Linked DNA regions of Homo sapiens: region 2 is linked to region 1. The links are contacts of gene promoters, found by promoter capture Hi-C in human tissues and cell types (Jung and others, 2019). All regions are on one chromosome and are shown on one strand. Each heading gives the region's core, a stretch centred on a gene start or on the middle of the fragment in contact. The rest is flanking DNA. Distances are from core to core; before and after follow the strand shown. Region 1 holds the start of AMIGO3 (adhesion molecule with Ig like domain 3). Region 2 overlaps USP19 (ubiquitin specific peptidase 19).

The links. The method cuts DNA at HindIII sites, captures the fragments that hold promoters and counts their contacts. A contact is called where the count stands out against the background at its distance.
Region 2: a contact is called between a fragment that was not itself captured here and the fragment with the promoter of AMIGO3 in region 1, in 1 of the 25 tissues and cell types used here (dorsolateral prefrontal cortex).

Annotation. Positions count from the first base shown.
Region 1 is chr3:49,717,587-49,721,682 of GRCh38, forward strand. It overlaps AMIGO3 (adhesion molecule with Ig like domain 3), which reads right to left and starts at 2,098. Exons shown (of 1, transcript NM_198722.3): 1 at 1-2,098. The coding sequence starts at 1,879. The coding sequence ends at 365. It overlaps RNF123 (ring finger protein 123), which reads left to right. Exons shown (of 39, transcript NM_022064.5): 36 at 2,925-3,067; 37 at 3,214-3,308; 38 at 3,434-3,519; 39 at 3,599-3,943. The coding sequence ends at 3,719. GMPPB (GDP-mannose pyrophosphorylase B) reads right to left here. Exons shown (of 9, transcript NM_021971.4): 9 at 2,330-4,096. RefSeq lists enhancers at 1-18, 1,064-1,871, 1,353-1,462, 2,233-2,462 and a silencer at 3,457-3,634. The HindIII fragment of the contact is 19,440 bases long and covers 1-4,096 here.
Region 2 is chr3:49,110,052-49,114,147 of GRCh38, forward strand. USP19 (ubiquitin specific peptidase 19) reads right to left here. Exons shown (of 27, transcript NM_001199161.2): 17 at 3,941-4,042; 18 at 2,438-2,578; 19 at 2,233-2,351; 20 at 1,860-1,997; 21 at 1,449-1,762; 22 at 1,204-1,314; 23 at 899-1,115; 24 at 660-812; 25 at 393-553; 26 at 133-311. Among named protein-coding and RNA genes, the nearest start is that of QARS1, 7.3 kb to the left of the region's middle. The HindIII fragment of the contact is 5,151 bases long and covers 1-4,096 here.

The DNA of each region.
Region 1 (4,096 bases), core at 848-3,347:
AGGCTGTAGAAGAACACAGCCACTTCCACAGCTGTGCTGTGTTGAAAGCCACAGGGGCCTGGGTCTCTCAGCCTCACAGGGCATTTGGGCACTAGGAAGTCCGCGGGAAAGCAGGAACTAGCACACCTTGCAGGGCCTGGGGCCTTTGGGTCCTGTGCAGGGGCAGAGCAGAAGGCAGGTTGGGGACCACAACCCCTGTCTCTACCAGTGAGCGAGAAGGCCCATTGTGTTTCGAGGCCCATACAGGAAGCTGGGGGGCCAGGCACAGTGCTTCCCACCAGTATCTGCCAGTTCTCTGGACCGAAGCAGGGAGCAGGGCGAGCAGCAAGAGGGTGGGGGCCTGGGTGGGGGAGCCCTGGGCAGTCTAGGTTGTCATGGGACCCTCGGAGCCTATGGAGCTGGCGGACTCAGAGCCAGCCTTCAGCTGCAGGCCTCCAGGGTTGTAGAGATCGAATTCCTCAGCTACTGCCAGCTGCACGCGGCCATTGAGGCCCCTCCGGCCTGGCTCCAGAAAGACTACGTGCTTGTGGACGCTGGCCTTGCGGCTGGGTGCGTCTGGCGGTGTGGTGCTGAGTACTGAGGACTGTGCGCTCAGCTCTTGGAGCGGGCTGGGTGTTTGGGGCCAGCGGCGGCAGCGGCAGGCACGGCGGCAGCAGCGGCAGGGTGGGGCGAACAGGTAGAGCAGCACGAGCACAAGGCCCACGGCACAGCCCAGCAGTGTGGTGAAGCCTGTGTTGAAAGCCTCGGGCTCTGGGCGCGGAAAGTGCACGCTCACGTTGTACTCGTGCGTCTGGTTGTGGTGCAGGCGGGGCCCAGTGGCCAGGCACACGAAGAGTCCCGCATGCTGCTCCTGTACGTTGCCTATGGCCAAGCTGCCGTCGGCCAGCACCGCGATGCTGCCATCGCGGGATCCTGGCGCCCTGAGAAGCTCCTGCTGCGGCGAAACCCAGGCAATGCGCATGGCCGGGACGCTGGTGTTGCAGTAAAGCCTCAGGGACCGACCCACCAGCGCGTACAGGTGCTCTTCCGGCCGCTCTAGGCCAAGAGCTGGGGCCGACGAGCAGTTCTCAAAGACGCGGCTGTGCTGGAAGAAGCGCACGCGGGACGCGGGTACCTTGAAGGCCAAGCATACGTACTCGCGCGCAAAGTCGCGCACGGCGCTCAGGCCCCGCTGGTGCCAGCGCTGTAGCAGGTGGTAGAGGCGGCAGTCGCAAGGCAAAGGGTTGTTGTGCAAGTAGAGGCCGTTCTTGAGGAAGGCCGGCAGCGCGGCCAGCTCAGGTACGGAGATGTGTCCCAGCCGGTTGGAGGAGAGGTCCAGAGTAAGCAGGTGGGTGGCGCTCAGACCGTGCAGGTGGTCGAAGGAGAACGAGGCGAGTTCGTTGCAGCCCAGGTAGAGATGGCTGAGCGCGCGCAGGCCGTGGAAGGCATGCTCGTCCAAGTGCACCAAGCGGTTATTGAACAGAAGCAGCTTCTCCAGCGCCCCCAGCCCGTCGAGGTCGTGGCGGCCAAGCGCCCGCAACGTGTTAGATGATAGATCGAGCAGCCTCAGGCCGCTGGCGTTGACGAAGACGCCGCGACCCAGCGCATCTAGTTCGTTGTGGTCTAGGTGCAGGGCGCGCAGCTGGAAGAGGGGCGCCAACCAGCCGGGGCGCAGGCGCTGGAGCGCGTTGTGGCTCAGGTCGAGGTCCGCAGTAGCGGCAGGTAACTCGGCTGGCACGTCCTGCAGCCCTAGGCCAGTGCAGCTTAGCAGGTCGGCAGCGCAGATACATTTGTAGGGGCAGTTGTGGAGCGCACGGGGCGGGAAACCCTCGGAGTCCGGGGTGCCTAACCCAACGCGCAGCATGCAGAGCAGTGTCCCCAGCAGCACCAACCAGGTCATGGCGGCGACCACCAGGGACAGTACAGAGCAGCTCTGTGCAGGTTGCAGTTCCAGGACTCACCCTCTTCTGCTCTAGTGCGACATGGGTGGCACCGGATGGCCCTTGCCGAGGAGGCACGGCGGGTTCTTGCCAGCCGACGGCCCCTACTCTCCGGTTCCCAGGTTGTGAGGCGGTGCGGCACTCTTAGCCGCGCTCCCTTCGGCTTCGCTAGCCCTCTCCAAGCGAGTTCCTGATCGGCTCCTAAATACTCCCCCCAGGGGCGGGGCCCGGGCTCCTATTGGTTCCCGTTTGAGGAGGCGGGGCGGCTACATCCCTTTGTGCCCAATGGCCCCGCATGACCGCCAGATGGGGAGCAAGGCCAACCCCAAAGTCCCCGTCAGCCTTTGGCTGGCAGCTCTCCGCCGCTCGTTTTTCCTCGGGGAGTAAAAGGGGGAGTCTGGAAGAATGTCTCCAAGCTGCTGTTAGTGTTTATTTGAAGTGACTTTGAAGGACTGATAATATTATGGGGCAGGCAGACTCTCACTATCTTAAGGTGGTTCGCCTGAGCCTTCTTAAAGTGGTACCCCAGGCCGGGCGCGGTGGCTCACGCCTGTAATCCCAGCACTTTGGGAAGCCAAGGCAGGTGGATCACCTGAGGTCAGGAATTCGAGACCAGCCTGGCCAACCTGGTGAAACCCTGTCTCTACTAAAAATACAACAATTAGCCGGGCGTGGTGGTGGGCGTCTGCAATTCCAGCTACTCGGGAGGCTAAAGCAGGAGAATCACTTGAACCCGGGAGGTGGAGGTTGCAGTGAGCCGAGATCGTGCCATCGCACTCCAGCCTGGGCAACAGAGCGAGACTCGTCTCAAGAAAAAAAAAAAAAAAACAGGCTGTGTGGCACCTTACTAGAATACAGGACTTGGGGTTTGGGAAGCAGGGAGACGGAAAGGATGCAGGGGGGGTGATCATGTACGAGCCATGGCACTCCTCATTGGCAATCCCAAGAGAGACTTTTAGCCAGGCCCCAAGCCTTCTGACTGCCCTTGCACCCTCCCCTACCTAGGAGAGAGCAAGCCACATCAGTGCTCCTGGCAGATCCCTGCTTCCAGCTACGCTCAATATGCTATCTCCTGGGACAGCCAGAGCCCCCAGCACCTGGCACTGCTCTGCCAGCCCCTGACCGGAAGCGCTTCTCCCTGCAGAGCTGTGAGTGGGCTGGTGGGGCAGGTCAGGGAAATCTGGGGCTGGGTCGGGTCAGGAGCCTTAAGAACAGCAAAGTCCTAGGCTGGGAATATTCAAGAGGCATCACATCCTCAGCTACCTCTGACTTGACACTACCTACCACTCCCCAGATGCGGATTATATCAGTGCCGATGAGCTGGCCCAAGTGGAACAGATGCTGGCGCACCTGACCTCTGCATCTGCCCAGGCAGCAGCTGCCTCCCTGGTGAGTGGGAACACGGTGCACAGGTCCATGCCACTTGAATATGTGTGCACTCCTACACAGGCACAACGGACATCCACATAGCCAGGCATCCAACTCCAGCCCACCCTTCACTCTCCTCCCTGCAGCCCACCAGTGAGGAGGACCTCTGCCCCATCTGCTATGCCCACCCCATCTCTGCTGTGTTCCAGCCCTGTGGCCACAAGTCCTGCAAGTAAGTGGGCCCCACAGCTTGGTGGTGGGGAGAGCAGTAGGTACATGCAGGGCAGTCCTCATCCCCTCCCCTGTTGTAGAGCCTGTATCAACCAGCACCTGATGAACAACAAGGACTGCTTCTTCTGCAAAACCACCATCGTGTCTGTAGAGGACTGGGAGAAGGGAGCCAATACGAGTACTACCTCCTCAGCTGCCTAGCCCTCACAGCCTGTGCCATCCTGGAACCTCCACCTTTGAACCCAGAGCCAGGCTGGGCCCTATTTATGAGCTCCCTTTGCCCTTCTCCTGTATCCCACACCACCACATCCAACCTCCTTGCCTGCCTGTATCCTCATTGGTGGGAGCCCAGCCATGGCCCTAATTGTGCCTGAGCTTGACTTTCAGTCAGGGCCACAGTGAGCATTAAATTATTATTCCATACAGCCCTGGCCCTGGCCCTTCTTGAGGGAGTGGGGTTTGTGGGGTGTGCCCAGCAGGGATCCTGCCAGATGATGTCCACATGAGAAGGCAGGTGTCCAACAGCTTCAGCTTCACCCAGTGCCCCCCAGACAAATAATGACAAGTCCAGGGTCTTC
Region 2 (4,096 bases), core at 1,088-3,587, 610 kb before region 1:
GAACTCTGCAATTCTCATGAATCCCAAGGCTCAATGGGCCTGTGGCTGGAGGAGAGGAAGCTATATCCCCCAACCCGGCCCCAGTCTGTGAACTGTCCCCCAGTATTCTGTAAAGCCTCCCACATGCCTCACCTGGCTGGCAGCAGCCTCAGCTGCAGGGCCTAGGTCTGGGTGGTGCTCAGAGTGACCTGCCCTGGGGGGCCTCTCCACAGGAGAGTTCCGCCGGCGGTAGAAGAGTACATAGGCATAACGCGTCACAACCTGGCTCTCGTCTACCGTTGTCACTGTGCTGTCATCAAACAAGCGCCAGCCTACAGCAGGGTGGGAAGAGTGTGAACAAAGTCTGCACCACCACCCCTACCACCTATCCTGCTGGCTGTGTGTGCCCTCACCCACGTCACTGCGCTGACTGCTACGATCATTGGGCAGGCGTGCACAGGCAGTGTAGTGGCCACCAATCATGCCTCCATAGTGGTTGATGACAGCATATAGATCGTAGCTGGGCAGCTGCTCCTCTTTCTGACCAATGCAGAACTTGCTCAGGTCCAGGTTCCTGCAGGTCAGGTCCAGTCAGGGAGGGGTGAGACAGGCAACAGGCGCTCAGGATGCCCATCCTGGTCCTCACACCCCACCCACAGTTACCAAGGTCCACTGCTTACCTAACAGGGAACTCCACCAAGTCATTGATCTTGTCACGCCAGATAAAACTACGAAAGGAGAAGCGCTTGAGCTGCACGATGAGAACATTTGGCAGGCGCCATAGCAACAGCTGCTTGGAGGCCTCACGGTGCTGTTTGCACTGTGGGCAGTACCTGGTGGGGACAGAGATTGGGTCAGGACCAGCAAGTCTCTCTCTTCTCCATCCTGCCCCCTTATCTACTTGCTGCTCTGTTCTCACCAGGCCTCCTCGGGTGCCAGCACCTCAGGCCGTGTGAAGAGGTTGAGGCACTGGTCCAGGGTGAAGTGGCCGGCCCGGGCAGCCTCACCGGCAGAGCCTGGATCCTCAGCACATTCCAGCTCCTTGGAGGCTACCAACACAAACTCCTGCAAGCGCTCATTGTTCCGCCAGACGAGAGCCAGGCTACAGTCGTCACCCAGCTCCAGTGGGGTGTCTCCTGGAGATTCGCAGGGAGAGAGGTCATGCAGCTGTGGAGAACAGCCAGCTCAACCCACCCCATGGCTCCCACCCACAGCCTCAGACACCTTTGTCCTCTAGCCGCTGCTCTCGGTTGGATGAATCAATTTTATAGATGAAGAACTGGGGTGTGTGGGCATTCATAGCTTCACTTGGATGCTGGTACCCAGGCACAGCAGCTGTGTGAGAACATGATAATCAAAGCTTCCCTGCCCATCAGGGCCTCACCAGGCCCACCAGGCCCTAAACAACAGCCCCCTCCATCCTCCCTTATCCTCCTCCCCAGCTTCTAGAGCCTTTCACTGGATCTTACCTTCGGGTCGGGACACCCTCTCGCCAGCTGGCAAGGAGCCAACCTCAATGGGCCCACTGGCCAGCATCTCAGAAGAAATTCCACTGGTGCTGGGCACAGGACCCCGGTCAGGGGCTGCCCACACCCGGGGAAGCCCTGTGTCCCCCTCAGCCATAGGGGTCACCAGCTGGAGCTCAGGTGGCTGAATGGGGTCTCTCTCGCTGTCCCCAGCCTCCAGGGAACCTGTGGAGAGCAGTGTGGTGCAGCCAGGGCTCTGAGACTCCAAGGCCATGCGGCCTGGCTGAAAGGGTGGCTGGAATACACTCACAGAGTACCTGGCAACAGAGAACAACGCAAGTAAGACTCCTGACCAGCCCATCTAGCACCTCTGCCCCCACCTACACCACTCTAGTCCAACCACTGGGCACTTACCGGGCATAGCCCTCTAGCAACTGAGCGAGGCGGGCATAAGTGAGGCGTGAGGCAGGTACACTGACCAGGAAGGGGTAGCCAATGTTCTCAGGTCGGCAGAGGCCCTTGTGGTCAGGCCAGTGGGTTTTCTGGCAGAGCCTGACGGGAAGAGGAAGACAAGGATAGGCCCTTAGCCCCATCTCCTATGACTCCATACTGGGGGCTAGTCATAGTCCCTGGGAACTGGGTACGCCAGCCCTGCCTCCCCCAGAGCCTGGTAAAGTAGGGTGGCAAGTAGAAAGCTTAAGCATATGTGCCTTGGTGTGAAGGGAAGGAGCAGGGTGGCACATGGAAGGTGGAAAGAAAGGGTAGGGGAGACCATGGGGGTCCTCACTGGTTGCAGTAGCCCACACGGTAGCACCGGGTACAGCGCTTCAGCTTTTCATCCTCCGACTGTTGCTTCCGCTGGCAGGCTGCACACTTGGAGATGGGGACGCTGGGCACCTGGGGGCGCTAGGGTGGGTCGTCTGGCTCAGCAAGACCAGGAAGAAGTGCCCCACCCACCAGGGCGCTGTGCCATCAGGTTGGCCCCCACTCACCTGTTGCACCTCTAGCACCACTACCCGCTCCTTAGCCAACTCTGAGGATAGCAGCTCAAAGCAGAGGAGCGTATCAGATGGGGACACAGTGTCCAGTGAGTGGGAGGGTAGGAACACACGATGAAAACGATTCTTAATTACCTGGGGACAGAGAACACACAGATCCCACGTGAGGATAAGCCCTTTCCCTAGCCCTGCCCCAGAGTTTAAGAAGGCTTGGCCCTGCCTTGGGTCTATGTGGGCAGTGGTGAGGTCTGTAGGCCCAAATAGGCTTATGCCTCTGCTGGCACCTGTCTCAGTGCCCAATGCCATAAGGAGCCTGGTGCATCAGAGGGCCTGAAAGACCAGGTGTGAGGCAGATATCAACCACACCAGCTCTCCACACTGAGGGACTCTGCCCTGCTATAACTAGCATAGCCTTATAAGACTGTAACATATTATCATGGAGGGTCCACATTCAAAGAGCCTCCTCCCCACTCTTACCCCTAAGAAAACCAACACTGTCAGGCTAAAGGCTAGGAACCCCTGGGGAGAGCTAGCACACACAACTGGGATAAAAGGAGAGAGCAGCAGGATAGAGGGAGAGGCAGAGCGAACATAGGGATAGTCCTGCAGCTCAAGCTCCTTGTCTAAAAAGGGAAATGCAGTTGGGATCCACCACCACAAAGGGGAATAAACCCTGATAATGGCTAGGAACTGAGGGCACTTCTGTTGCACAGAAAAAATAACAGCACATCGCCTGTTTTTGTACAGTCACAGGCATACTCATGTGTATGTCTATTTTTATTTTATTTTATTTTATTTTTGAGACAGAGTCTCACTCTGTCACCCAGGCTGGAGTGCAGTGGCGCGATCTCGGCTCACTGCAACCTCTGCCTCCCAGGTTCAAGCGATTCTCCTGCCTCAGCCTCCTGAGCAGCTGGGACTACAGACATGTGCCACCACGCCCGGCTAACTTTTCCTGTATTTTTAGTAGAGGTGGGGTTTCACCATGTAAGCCAGGGTGGTCTGGATCTCCTGACCTTGTGATCCATCAGCCTTGGCCTCCCAAAGAGCTGGGATTACAGGCATGAGCCACCACGCCTGGCCCTATTTTTATTTTTTTATCTATTTATTTATTTATTTTTGAGACAGAGTCTCACTCTGTCACCCAGGCTGGAGTGCTGTGGTGCAATCTCTGCTCACTGCAACCTCCACATCCCGGGCTCAAGTGAGCCTCTTGCCTCAGCCTCCCAAGTAGCTGGGACTATAACACGTACCACCATGCCCAGCTAATTTTATTTCTTGTAGAGACAGTGTTTCACCAAGTTGCCCAGGCTGGTCCCAAACTCCTGGGCTCAAGTGATCTGCCCACCTCGGCCTCACAAAGTGCTGGGACTACAGGCATGAGCCACTGTGCCCAGCCCATGTGTATGTCTGTAGATGCCAATGACTGTACACACGTCTGTGGTGAGTACACACACACATCCACACATGTGATAGCCCAAGGAAGGACAAAGATACCTCCGCCAAACGCAGGTTCTCAGGCTTCACATGAACACTCTGAGAGAGGGAGTCCAATACTTCGCTCGCAGTGGAGTTCTCCTTGCTGACGCTCACCAGGAACTGTGGCAAAAAGGGCAGTCAGTGAGGGAGGTGGGCCACGTTCTCTAGAACAGC